Linked DNA regions of Homo sapiens: region 1 is linked to region 2. The links are contacts of gene promoters, found by promoter capture Hi-C in human tissues and cell types (Jung and others, 2019). All regions are on one chromosome and are shown on one strand. Each heading gives the region's core, a stretch centred on a gene start or on the middle of the fragment in contact. The rest is flanking DNA. Distances are from core to core; before and after follow the strand shown.

Region 1 (7,330 bases), core at 2,992-5,491, 610 kb after region 2:
TATTTAATCCAAAAACTAAAATTTATTAGCAATGTGGTCAAATTATCCATTTGTTTCTTAAAAACACAAACCTGATGAAATTATTTTTGAAAGAAATTATCTGCCAGCCTGGGCAACATAGCAAAACCCCATCTCTACCAAAATACAAAAATTAGCCCATGATGGTGGTGCATGCATGCCTGTAGTCCCAGCTACTTGGGAGGCTGAGGTGGGAGGATCACTTGAGCCCAGGAGGCAGAGGTTGCAAAAAAAAAAAAAAAGAAAAAAGAAATTATCTGAACAATTTTCAAGAATAATAGTAAGAAAAGTCATGTTAGAAGTGACAAATTCTGAAATTCTGGCTGGGCATGGTGGCTCATGCCTGCAATACCAGCACTTTGAGATGCCGAGGTGGGAGAATCACTTGAGCCCAGGAGTTTGAAACCAGCCTGGGCAACATATCAAGACCTCATCTCTACAAAAAAAAAACAAAAACAAACAAACAAAAAACAGACATGGTGGCACATGCCTGTAGTCCCAGCTACTTGGGAGGCTGAGTTGGGAAGACTGCTTGAACCCAGGAGTTCAAAGCTGCGATGAGCTAAGATCCCACCCCAGTATTCTGGCCTGGGTGACAGAGCAAGATCCTATCTCAAAAAAAAAAAAAAAAAGAAATATAAATTCTAAACCTGGTGCTTGAGAAGAGTGGCCAAGGACAGGAGAGCTGTAGCAGTCTGAGCCATTGCTGTCTCTGCCGTTTTGGTAGCCATCTGAGGAGTCATATCTTTGACTCAGCACTTTTTCAAATTTCTGAAAATGATCACTTCTCAACATTTTCCTCAAATTAACAATTTTACCTCTTTCAGCAATTCCTTATAAGTTGAATTTTTACTTCTTAAATTATCTGCAGGGGAGTTGTTTTAAAAATATGTATTTTAACTGTCATTGACCACGAAGTATACTCCTCTGACTTTCTTGAAGTGGTAGACAATATTTTCATAACTTTTAACAAATTCACTTCAGAAAACATTTGTATACAAAACACTGCACTAGGCACAGAAGGAAAGCAATGACAGATAAGCACACATTAGAGGCAAAAAGTATTTCCTAGGCATATAACTTTAGTAAAAGTCAAACTATGACAAATTCTATGCTAGATGGATAAACTCGTTGCTATGGGAGCCCAAGCGAGTGGAGTGATTAATTCTCATTGTGAGAATTGAAGGTGACAAAATAGACAAAATAGATGGCATTTGGACCAACCCTGAGAGAAACTGGACTTTCTCTGAAGGATAAGGACATCGTTGTTTGGGGAACGGGGCTGAGGGTGGTACAAGGAAGGAAAGGTGTGTTTGTTTGTTTGTTTTTACTTTGCATCTTTATAATAGAGCTAACAAAAGAAAGAGATGCTCATAAATTGTTGCAATACTTTGATTGTCTTTGGGAGTGGCCAGAGGTTCAAATTCTTTGGAAGGATGGATATCTGTGCTGACTTGCAGGAAATATGAGTCAGCTTTTCTCATGAACTCAGCACTGTTGTTATAGCTAGGCTATTTGGGAAACCTGAAGCAGAACAAATCAGACACCACAAGTCTTTTCTTTTTATTGATTGGCCCAGACATGCATCCTACAAGGGTGGACAACAAGAATGCCCTTTTTATTGTCAAGACTTAAAGGAACTCTGCCAGCAAGGGGAAACACCTGCAATTGAGAATAAACTAAAAAAAAAATTTAAAAAAAGCCCTCCTCTTTTCTGTCTATATAATCACTCAGAATAGGAGACACACACGTCTTTAGTCCATACCTCTCTCCTGCACTTCAGGATTGTGTATTCAACTGCCTCCAGATAGCTCAGTCCCAAGTATACCTGAAATTCAGCATTTAAAGGTGAAGTCATTATCTTTACCCCAAACCTGTTACTCCTATAATTTCTCATTTCCTGAATAATTTATAGTTGAACTCACCATGCACCTAAAAGCTAAAGCCGCCTGTGGAGACTGAATTTTTTTTTTTTTAGGAGTTCGAGACCAGCCTGTCCAACATGGTGAAACCCTGTCTCTACCGAAAATACAAAAATTAGCTGGGCATGCACCTGTAGTCCCAGCTACTCTGGAGGCTGAGTCAGGAGAATCACTAGAACCCAGGTGGCGGAGGTTACAGTGAGCCAAGATCATGCCACTGCACTCCAGCCTGGGAGACAGACTCCATCTCAAAAAAAAAAAAAAAAAAAAAAAAAAAAAAGTCAAAACCTGAGTCATCAACTCCTCTTTTTCCCTCATTCATTGACACCTAATTAATCTTGAAAAAGAATTGTTGTCATCTCCTTAACATCAGTAGTATCCTCCCTCACTTCATCCCCATTCCCACTGACCTAGTTCAAACCCACACCTTTTGGTTTGTTTTTTAGCCTGAAATTTTGCAGTAGTCATCTAATTGGATTTCCTATCTCTCTCTCTCTCTTTTTTTTTTGAGATAGAGTCTCTTTCTGTTGCCCAGGCTGGAGTGCAGTGGCGCAGTCTTGGCTCACTGCAACCTCCACCTCCCAGGTAACTGGGATTACACCTCCTGAGTAACTGGGATTACAGGTGCATGCCACCATGCTCAGCTAATTTTTGCATTTTTAGTAGAGAGGGGACTTCACCATGTTGGCCAGGCAACGAGCTCATCTCAAACTCCTGACCTCAAGTGATCCACCAGCCTCGGCCTCCCAAAGTGCTGGGATTACAGGCGTGAGCCACCACGCCCAGCTGGATTTTCTATCTCTTCTCTTTCCTTCTTCATCCATCCCTGTGTTGGCAGGCTGATTTTTCTAAGGAAACATGATCAGTTGTTCCAGACATCACTGGAGATTCCTAGCTTCCTCCTCTCCTTTCTATTCCTGGTGGAAAGTTCATCAATGTCCAGTCCTGATGTTACCTAAGAAGAGCAGGGGACTAGGGCCTATGCTTCTCTCTCCCCTACCCCTCTCTAGTGTGGTGGAGATAGTCTCTCATTTGGAACACTTTCAGACTGTCAACACAAGGCTCTTAATTGAGAGAAAGCATTTAAGCTGCTGCCGCCCCTAAAAGCATCTTGTTCTTTCCTACGTATGTGCCTGCAGACAAAGAAATTGATCAGTTAGTTATATCAGGTGCGCCAAATCAAGGGCAAAGTTAGTCCAGAAGGGAGAAACTCTTAACTATTAGCTTATTCAAGATTTGGAGAACAATAGACTTTTAATAATAAACATTTAAATTTAAAACAAAAAAGATTTCTAAAGCCTCTTGTAAGGTGGTTACCTTGTTAATTAAATAATCCCCCAAAGCTATTTTGGGCTCTCTAGTGTCAGCATCACTTTATTATCTCCTAGAAATGGAAAGCCTTCCTCTACATTTCCCATTCATAACCCTGCAAGTATTCATATCTGGTTGTAATTATCTTAACGGCAGATTTAATTTTAATAAACATTGATGTATTAGATTTATGTCATAATAACTTACATAGTTTAAAATTATGCTAAAAGAGAAACAGAAGGAAGTCGAATTGAGATGAGGCTTTTACTTGACTATATTAGATCTGAAATGGAAGAAAGGCTTTTATTTTATTTTCTTTAAAATTTTTTTACTTTGTTGAGATGGCATTTTGCTATTGTTGCCCCAGCTGGAGTGCAATGGCACGATCTTGGCTCACTGCAACATCTGCCTCTGGGGTTCAAACGATTCTCTTGCCTCAGCCTCCCAAGTAGCTGGGATTACAGGCATGCGCCACCACGCCCAGCTAATTTTTGTATTTTTAGTGGAGACGAGGTTTCACCATGCTGGTCAGGCTGGCCTCAAACTCCTGACCTTAGATGATTCACTCACCTCGGTCTCCCAAAGTGCTAGGATTACAGTTGTGAGCCACCACACCTGGCCGAAAGAAAGGCTTTTGAAGATGGCACAATCAGGGGGTGCAAACTGCTCCCTACCTGTGCAGTTCTCTCTGGAAGGTAATGGATGGTACAGTTGAAGAAAAGAGATCCACAGAACCCTTGATGTCAGGCTAAAGAGAGGATATAATTATACAGCTCATTTTTTTTGTTTTTTGGGTTTTTTTTTTTTTTTTGGTTTTTATTTGTTGGTTTTGAGACAAGGTCTCACTATGTTGCACAGGCTGGTCTCAAACTCCTGGGCTCAAGTGATCCTCCTGCCTCAGTCTCCCTAATAATACAATTCATTTTTAACTAGCTGTATGCTAAAAGGGAATGGGGAATTAGTGGCATTATGAAAAGAGACAAGAAACATATTCTTCCATTTCAAATTCTGATGATCACATAAAGTAAGGCCCTGTTTGCTGCAAGGGTAGGGCCAGGAGTTGAAATACTAAGGGTAATAAAAATGGTCATCAGTTGCAAAGGAAGATCTCAAGGTTAGAGTTTAGGTAACATGTAGGACAATTGGACAAGGGTAGGGCTAAATGGATTGGGCTATAAAAAAGTTAATGTGAGGCAGGCAATTTTTAAAAAATGGATTTACAGTTTATCATCTGACCTACATCATAATGTCTTCATGAGAATGACACTCATAAATTGATTTCATGTTTCTCTGATCCAGAACATAGGATTATTTTTAGCAGGAATGAATCTCAGAGATCATCTAGTGAACATTTCATTTTCAAAAAGTGACCATTTCCCTCTGCGGCTTGTCCAAAGTCATATACAGTACACCCAAAAGCATGAGAAGAGCTAGGACTAGAATCCAGATTCCTAGATTCCTAGTTTTTTAGTTTGTCTTTTACATAAATATCAATCGGTTCTTGGAATTCAGCATTCCAAACTCCCCATGAAATACACTGGATACATAGGAAAATCCTATTTTGGAGATGAAGAAACTAAAGCTCAGAAAGGCGTAATGAGTTTTCCCAAATCACATGGCTAGACGCCTTACAATCCCTGGGCCAATAGGCTTCTACCAAACCACACTGCCTTGTGGATTTTTAAAAAGTAAAATCTTAAATGCCATGTGCCTAGGCATAGAATTCATTCCCTCAATCTTTGTACTGTTATATACAATGCACTCTGCTAGTTGTCAGGAAAGATTACAAGACTATTTATTTTGTAAGACTAGATTTCTATTTTGCACGACTGAATATTGAACATTACCTAATTATTAGGGAAATGCATGTTTTTTGGTGGTTGATAGCTAGCAAGAAGTAAGTCTTGGTATACTACAACATTAGGAATATTTGTAAACTTTCACCTAAGGATGGGCTTCATTCAGATTCTTTACTGTTAATATATTACCCCATCCAGCTGGGTGCGGTGGCTCACATCTGTAATCCCAACACTGTGGGAGGCCAAGGCGCGTGGATCATGAGGTCAGGAGATCAAGACCATCCTGGCCAACATGGTGAAACCTTGTGCCTACTAAAAATACAAAAATTAGCCGGCGTGGTGGTGTGCCCCTATAATCCCAGCTACTCAGGAGGCTGAGGCAGGAGAATCGCTTGAACCTGGGAAGCGGAGGTTGCAGTGAGCCAAGATCGTGCCACTGCACTCCAGCCTGGGCGACAGAGTAAGACTCCATCTAAAAAACGGAAAAGAAAAAAAGAAAGAAAGAAAAAAAGAGTTCAGTGAAACTGGCCAAGTTGCATTAGAAGGAGAAAGTCAGTAGAGGTTAGTGTTGCAATCTGTAAATATACGTAAGGAATAGATCTAAGGAAGAAACTAAAAAAAGTAAGCAGAATGAAAGTATGGCCAGTAGTGAAACTATAATTTAGGGTAAGAAGTGGTTGCAGCTTTAGGAGAGTTTGCTGCTGGATTGTTTAGTTGACCCTTTATTTTACTTACTTAGGTTTGGTTTTATTTTTCTACAAAACGTATGCAAAGTCTAACACATTGCCTATGTAAATTTACTATGAACTACAAAATCTAATATAGAAGCTTTATTAGTACTTCAACTAAGGCACATATTTAAGAAAAAGCAGAATTTTAGAATGTTAGTAAGTCCTATGTCTAAAAACAATCAATGTAAAACAAATATTCATACCTAGAGAACACAGTGAAACTGTTTATAAGGAACTACCAAATGCAAAATAGACTCTAACTGATGTTATATAGAGTTTTCCAAAGCAACAGGGAAGTGGAAACCAGCACATTTGGGGATTAGAGTCTATTGGAAATAGTTACAGATGAAAGTTTTGGGAAAAATCGATAATGCCCACCCCAGTTCTCAGAACTGAGGAATTCAAAGAATTTGAATAACTGAAGCAGAAGTTCACATGGGTAAACAAGAATGCCATCTAGACTGGATGTAACTAAGCTGCTAACTAGAGTGGCTCTGAAAATATCTTCCAAAAAACTTTGCTCTTGTCACTACTGTCACTTTGAATTAAGAGAGAAAGATGTATGGCTTAAATGAGTGCACTGCCTGTGAGACAAGGTTTTGTTCCATATGTTAACCAGCTGTCGAGTAAAATTTGTCATTTTCCAGGACTGAAACAAGAAAGACACTAGTGATATATGTTTTGTTTGGAAGAGACTATGCAAAGCTTTGTACCATGATTATTAGCCTATCATTCCTAGGAAGCTTCATACCTGGGACCTAAGAAACCTCACTCAATATTTTTCTTTTTGGCCTAAATTTTTTGAAATAGGGAGTTACAATGCTAATTTTTTTCAAAAACTGTGCAGATACCTCTGGGAAACTTTTGTAAGGTCCTTTTAAAATATATATATATATTATATATATATAATATATATATATTATATATAATATATATAATATATATAAATATATATATAATATATATAATATATATAATATATTAAATATATATATAATATATATAATATATATATATAAATATATATATAATATATTATATATAATATATAATATATAATATATAATATATATAATATATATTATATATATAAATATATAAATATATAATATATATTTATAATATATATATAAAATATATTTATGTTATAAATATATAAAATATATTTATGTTATAAATATATAAAATATATTTATGTTATAAATATATAAAATATATTATATATATAAAAATATATAAATATATAAAATATATTTTATATATTTAAAATATATAAAATATATAAAAATATATAAAATATATATTATGTATATTTTATATATTTAAAATATATAAAAATATATATAAAATATATATATATATAACTTTAGCTGGGCATGGTGGTATATGCCAGTAGTCCTACCTACTGGGAAGGCTGAGGCAGGAGGATCACTTGAGCCCAGGAGTTCAAGGATGAAGAAAGCCATGATCGCACCACTGCACTCCAGTCTGGGTGACAGAGTGGGACCCTGTCTCTATTAAAAAACAAACAAACAAAAATCTATAACTT
Region 2 (6,985 bases), core at 323-2,822:
TTTGTCTACTCCACTAGATTTAAACATGAGGGTGAGGACTTATTCACCACTCTACCTCCAGCACTAAAAGAAGGCCTGACACACAGTGGACCCTTGACAAATATTAATATATATCAGATAAATGGATTAAAATATGTCACTTTAAAGTGTTTGCAAATCGAATTCCTGGAATCGGGACATCTACTGGTTGAGGCTTAACATCGATTTAGGATTAAATTTACTCCCTTACATTTATATATCATTTTACAAAATGCTTCTGCCCACGTTACCTCATTCAATCCTTCCTTCTGTAGTAAAGAAACTGGAAGATATATTTAGTAAACAATAAGGATTTTATAATTGGCTTAGAAGTTAGATAAAAGGGGCCTTTTTAAAAATCCATCCAAGGGTCATAAACCGATAAGCCAAAATAAAACGAATTTGTCTAGAAGTCAGTCATTATAACAGGATCTAGCCTCGTGGTCTGACTTCCACAGATTTGAGGAAGAGAAAAAAAGTTTATTTTCCAGACTCTCTTGGCTGGGGCGCCATTCTTTCACAGCTTCAGATAAACAGAAAGAAAAGGTAAACAACATGCGCCACTCTTAGGAAACTACCTCCCGGTCAAGTTGGGAAAGCCAGCAAAGGACTGCTGAAACACCCAAGTACTTCCGAACCAACTCCTGCGGGACTTCTCCCCATCTCTCCCGCCGCTGTCCTGCGGGCCCCGGGGCTTGCCTGACGCCGGGAAGTATTGTGAACCTTGTTTATGTCCCAGTGTCAGGGCCGCACAGTGATAGTAACATCTCGGGTATCGCGCGGCTTGCGTCCGGGACGGCCAGCTGGGTGCCCCGAGTCCTGGGGGACCCTAGTAGGGACAGATCCTCAGCCGAGCCCCTCCTGGAGCCCCCAACGGGCCCGAGGGGGATCCCGGCCAGGCTGCGGAAGAAGAGCCGCAGCCATGGCAGGCGGCGGTCCCCGGCAGGGCTGAGTGGGATCTGGAGACATTTTTTAATAACAGGAGCATTTTGTGCCTTTCAGGGTTTCTACAAAGTGGCCGCATTCCGGCCCCAAAGTCAGCAGGCCTGAAAGCGTGCAGGCAGGCGCGTGGGAAGGAGTTTACTTCCAATTTGAGCAACGGCTGCTCCAGAGGTTGGCAGAGCCCCATTCCACGGGGAAAGTGGTGGGTGCCGGGCGAAGCGCCGCGCATTCCCTCACACTCCCCGGGTGCAGCAGGCCTCGTGCCCTCCCCGGGGCCCCCAACCATTGGCCAGTCCACCCCCCCCCCGACAGGCTGAGGGCTCAGGAGTGGCACTATTTCGTTACCTCTCTGCGCGGAGGCGAGTGAGGAGGTGATGAGCCGGACGGCCGCCGCGCCGCAAGTACAAGCACCGCAGCTGGGCATCTCCGCGAGGCCTAGGCCGGGGCTTCGCCCCCTGAGGACCTCCGGGTCACAGCGGCGTGAATCCTGCCCGCAAGGCGCGCTGACTCGGTTCCGAACCCTTTCGCGGGCCCTAGACCCCGTGGAGAGTTCACCTGCCCGGCAGCCAGGCCTTCACGCTTCTCTGCCCCACAGCCGTCTATTCACCAGAGTAGACACCCAACCCCCCCCTCCCTTCCCCTCCTTCTCCTTCTACCCCCACCCCCAGCCTACTGGGCCCGGGGAGCTTGCGCGCGCCTGCGCCCTAGGCCCGGGGAGGGGGCGGAGGGCGTGGGCACGCGCCGTGTTTGCGAGCTGGTGAAGCTACGTGAGGCGAAGGCGAGGGGGTGGTGCCCTGGGCGCCAATGAGTTCCCTACGGCAAGCGTCTAGCCCCAACTGGGGCGACTACAGGTCCCGACGCTCAAGGTTGCCAAAAGCCCTTTTATCCTAAAGTTGAAAGGTTTTGCGATAGACGCGGAGAGATGCATGCCGGGACTTGTAGTCCCGAGTCGTCATAGTCGAGCTCTTCCGGTCACTTTTAGTGGGCGGCAGGGAAGGTCAAGGTGAGGCTGGTGGCTTAACCCTCCAGGGGGAAGTCTCTAAAGTGCCTTGGTAGGCGCTGGATGCTTCAGATTCACTAAATTTCTTCCCCCGGAATTCCACATCCTGTGTTCCTTATCTTCTCATTCTCCTTAGTTTCATCACTTGTAACATGGAGTTGGTATTGTCAGTTAGTTCCCTGAGCAGCAATTGTTAGTTGGTAACAGCTCCGTCTCCTTGTTCTTTCAGGCCTCGTGGTGATAAAGCTTCTAGCTGTTGCTAGTCCGTGGGTGCTTTAAAGTCTTGAGGGTTTTCTTTTCTTTCTTTCTTTTTTTTAATTTAGTAAAGATGAGGTCTCCCTATGTTGCCCAGGCTGGTCTCAAACTCCTGGGCTCAAGTGATCCTCTCGCCTCGCCCTCCCAAAGTGCTGGGATTACAGGCGTGAGCCACCGCACCCGGCCGTGATTAAGGATGGCACTGCATAGATAACCTCTGGTCAGGTTCCTATCAGGCCATCCTCTCAAGTTATGAATTCAAAAGCACAGAGCCGGCTGGGCGTGGTGGCTCACACCTGTAATCCCAGCACTTTGGGAGGCCGAGGCAGGTGGATCACGAGGTCAGGAGTTTGCGACCAGCCTGACCCACATGGTGAAACCCCATCTCTACTAAAAATACAAAAATTAGGTAGGTGTGGTGGCGTACTCCTGTAATCCCAGCTACTCAGGAGGCTGAGGTGGGAGAATTGCTTGAACCCAGGAGGCGAAGGTTGCAGTGAGCCGATATCGTGCCATTGCACTCCAGCCTGGGCGACAGAGCGAGACTCCGTCTCAAAAAAAAAAAAAAAAAACCCAGAGCCATCTGAGATTATCCCTGTGAGAAAATGGATCCTTCACCAGGAAAGTGATGGCAAATACTTGTGGTCACATCAGCCCTTCCACATCACACCTACTTTCAGCTGTTTTCTGACAGATTAATGACGCTTTAAAAAGAAAGTCAAGTGCAGTTTTCCAGCTCAAATAGTTTACACTGGAGGAGTTAACTCCTTGAGTTATTTACTTTTTGCGAACTACATAGCTGAAGGCACATAACTTTTTTTTTGAGACAGAGTCTCCATCTGTCACCCAGGCTGAAGTGCAGTGGCACCATCTCAGCTCACTGCAACCTCTGCCTCCTGGGTTCAAGTGATTCTCCTGCCTCAGCCTCCTGAGTAGCTGGGATTACAGGCATGCGTCACCATGCCCGGTTAATTTTTGTATTTTTAGTAGAGGCAGAGTTTCACTATGTTGGCCGTGTTAGTTTCAAACCCCTGACCTCAAGTGATCCGCCTGCCTCAGCCTCCCAAAGTGCTGGGATTACAGGCATGAGCCATTGCACCCAGTCAGGCACATAACTTTTTATGTCTTCATTTTATGTAAAACTTTTTCTTTTGTCTTTTTTTTTTTTTTTTTTTTGAGATGGAGTCTCACTCTGTGGCCAGGCTGGAGCGCAGTGGTGCGATCCTGGCTCACTGTAACCTCTGGCTCCTCGGTTCAAGCGATTCTCCTACCTCAGCCTCCTGAGTAGCTGGGACTACAGGCGCACACCACCACGCCCAGCTAGTTTTTGTATTTTTAGTAGAGACGGGGTTTCACCATGTTGGCCAGGATGGTTTTGATCTATTGACCTCATGATCCGCCTGCCTTGGCCTCCCAAAGTGTTGGGATTACAGGTGTGAGCCACCATGCAGGCCCTCTTTTTCTTTTATACTTGATTTTACCTCCCAGCATTATGAGTTGCTATAAGAAATATTTTAATAAATTAGAGTCCATGAGTCTTAACTCACTCAATATTAACCCTGATTTTTTTAGATGAGGAAACAGGCCTATTGAAAAGGCAGATACTTGACCAGGGTCACATAACAAGTGAAAAACAGAGAATAGAGCTGGAGTCTTCTGGCTTTAAAACTGTATTTCTCAAGCTTTTCTTTTTTAACCCAAGACTCTTTTCGATAAACATAAAAATCTCACTTCTCGGCCAGGCGCAGTTTCTCACGCCTGTAATCCCAGCACTTTGGGAGGCCAAGGCAGGTGGATCACCTGAGGTCAGGAGTTCCAGACTGGCCTGGCCAACATGGTGAAACCCCGTCTCTACTAAAAATACAAAAATTAGCCGGGTGTGGTGGCGCACGCCTGTGATCCCAGCTACTCGGGAGGCTAAGGCAGGAGAATCGCTTGAACCTGGGAGGCAGAGGTTGCAGTGAGCTGAGATCGTGACAATGCACTCCAGCCTGGGTGACAAAGCAAGTCTCCATCTCAACAACAACAACAAAAAATCTCGCTTCTCCTCTCCTCCACCAGAAATTCTGGCACATCTTCTCAGAGAGTCATCATTCTTTTGGGAATCTTTGTATCCTCTGAATAAAGACTTTTTTTTTCATGGCCAAACCCTGCTCCTTCATATCAGCAGACATTGATTATCCCTGGAAGGATATAAATATAAATATTGAGGAACTCAGTATTTTAAAAGATAAGGACCTGCATCTGTAGGTGGTGCGAACTCAAGATAATATTAACACATCGTATTGAACTTTATAACTTACAAAGGGTTTTCACATCCACTTTCTCATTTGATTATTACAACAACCAAATGATATATTGTTATTATCAGCATTCCAGTTTTGAAGCTGAGAAAATCAAGACACAGAGAGTTTAAGTGACTTGCCCAAGGTCACAGCAGAACCCAGACTTAAATCCAAATCACCATATGGGTTTCCATTACTTCTCTATATCTTATTCCAAAAGCTGATGAGATTTTAGGGGTCTGCAGAATCTCTACCCCCTACCCAGGAACATCTCACATCAAGGAATAAAAATCTGCCCTCCTATTAAGGAAGTGACCCACCATCTTTCCTTTACTTAAGAATTACTTTGGTTGTAGCCGGGCGCGGTGGCTCAGGCCTGTAGTCCCAGCACTTTGGAGGCTGAGGCTGGCGGATCACGAGGTCAGGAGTTCAAGACCAGCCTGGCCAACCTGGTGAACCCCGTCTCTAAAAATACAAAAATTAGCTGGGCACAGTGATGTGTGCCTGTAGTCCCAGCTACTCAGGAAGCTGAGGCAGGAAAATCGCTTGAACCTGGGAAGCGGAGGTTGCAGTGAGCCGAGATCATGCCACTGCACTCCAGCCTGGGCAGCAAAGTGAGACTCTGGCTCAAAAAAAAAAAAAAAAAAAGAATTACTTTGGTTGTTTGTTAAAATACATTAGGCCCCTCTCCTAAAGATTTTGACAAAATAGTCTGGAGGAGGGCTCAGGAATCTGTTTTTATTGCTGGATGCTAGAATCAGGAGATGCTAAGATTTATTTGCAGAAATGATATGTTTCCACTGTGCTGATAGAAGTCTGGACCTTTTTTTCTCAAGGTCTCTTTTAGGCTCCTTCCAACTGCTACTACTTTCTTCCTCAGGGAGTCACTGCCCAACCTTGGTATTGTAGGGTGACCAAGAGGACTACAGCGAGGCGCTCATCATTTTCCTGGGCCTGCCCTTGGGGGCTGGAGGTAACCTTAGATAGCATGAGATCCCCCTTGTCCTCAATTAGACTGCCTCTTGTTCCTCATCCTGATGTTCAGGGAGATGGTCAGCAGATGGTGCTAACTTACCACCCTTCCCTCTGAATCCTTTGGGGGCATTCTTAAAATTAATCCAGTGGAACTTTCAGTGTATCAAATCTTGAAGACAGTGCTAGGGAATTCTTGTTTGTATTTACTAAAGGGCACAGACGTCAGGAGTAGAAGGACTGGTGTGTGAATCCCAGCTGAGTTCCTTAACAGCCATGTGACCTCTGGTAAGTAAGTTAATTCCATAAGCCTGTTTTCCACTATAAATTGGGGTGCTCTTGACCTCCTAGAATTAATGTGAGGAATAAATGATCCCTTGGCACTTGCTATAGTGAGTAGGTGCTTACTAAGTAATAAAGATATTTTCCTGTGCAATGTTGTGAATTATGGATTTCCCTTTATGCCTTTAAAAATTCCTTTAAATAAAAAAATCAAAAAATATAAACAATGAGTTGCATACAAAATAAATAAAAAAATAAAAATAAAAAATTACTTTTTCGGTCATGCTTCTTAGCCAGCTAGTTGAGGATCTTACCCTATTCACAGTACTTTAGCATTGTGAGGAACTTGCTTGATTTCAAATGAAACACTTAAAAAGAGATGAAAGAGAGAATATGAACTCTTGGCTTATAAGTCCTTTCCAATTTCCAATTTCCAATTCATGTGCATTAACCATAATATTAGATAATAAAAGTGATTAACAATTATAATCACCCACTGGCTAGGGCCGGGCACAGTGGCTCATGCCTGTAATCCCAGCATTTTGGGAGGCCGAGGCGGGTGGATCACAAGGTCAGGAGATCGAGACCATCCTGGCTAACACGGTGAAACCCGTCTCTACTAAAAATACAAAAAATTAGCCAGTCATGGTGTCGGGCGCCTGTAGTCCCAGCCACTCTGGAGGCTGAGGCAGGAGAATGGCATGAACCTGGGAGGCGGAGCTTGCAGTGAGCCGAGATTGTACCACTGCACTCCAGCCTGGGTGACAGAGCAAGACTCCGTCTCAAAAACAAACAACCAAACAAAAAAAAAAAACAACCAATTATAATCATGTATTACCTGTAAGCAATTGTTAAATATACAGAAGCATCCACTGGCTATGTATGTAAAGTAGTACTCATGGGTAAATTAATCAATAACAAGGTTATGAAGAGAAAAGGCTTCTGAGCCATCAAAGTAGATATTACAAAGTTGGCATATCAAAGTTCATGTACTTTACTCATACCTAGGCTTTCAGAATTTCATTCTGTAAGTCTCTTTGCTCATTTTAAATACTAATTTGGTCATATGGATCCCCATTGCATGAGTCAGTAAATTAGAAAGGGGGAATAGGTGCTAGAACCACAGCCAAAGTGTTGTCTAATAGCCTGACAAAAAAGGAAACACAAAAACAGATGTGTGAACTCAACAAGAAGGGTATATAGTCTGGCATCATTTGGGATTAGATAAAAT

The links. Contacts are between HindIII fragments. The study calls those that stand out against the background at their distance.
Region 1: a contact is called between a fragment that was not itself captured here and the fragment with the promoter of CLPX in region 2, in 1 of the 25 tissues and cell types used here (dorsolateral prefrontal cortex).

Annotation. Positions count from the first base shown.
Region 1 is chr15:65,795,274-65,802,603 of GRCh38, forward strand. The region is part of intron 1 of LOC105370866 (a long non-coding RNA gene); the gene reads left to right. Among named protein-coding and RNA genes, the nearest start is that of DENND4A, 6.6 kb to the left of the region's middle. The HindIII fragment of the contact is 3,881 bases long and covers 2,302-6,182 here.
Region 2 is chr15:65,183,770-65,190,754 of GRCh38, forward strand. It overlaps CLPX (caseinolytic mitochondrial matrix peptidase chaperone subunit X), which reads right to left and starts at 1,573. Exons shown (of 14, transcript NM_006660.5): 1 at 1,306-1,573. The coding sequence starts at 1,384. It overlaps LOC124903509 (a long non-coding RNA gene), which reads left to right and starts at 5,226. Exons shown (of 2, transcript XR_007064683.1): 1 at 5,226-5,473; 2 at 5,688-5,978. RefSeq lists an enhancer at 1,206-2,090 and a silencer at 1,512-1,821. The HindIII fragment of the contact is 6,593 bases long and covers 1-3,051 here.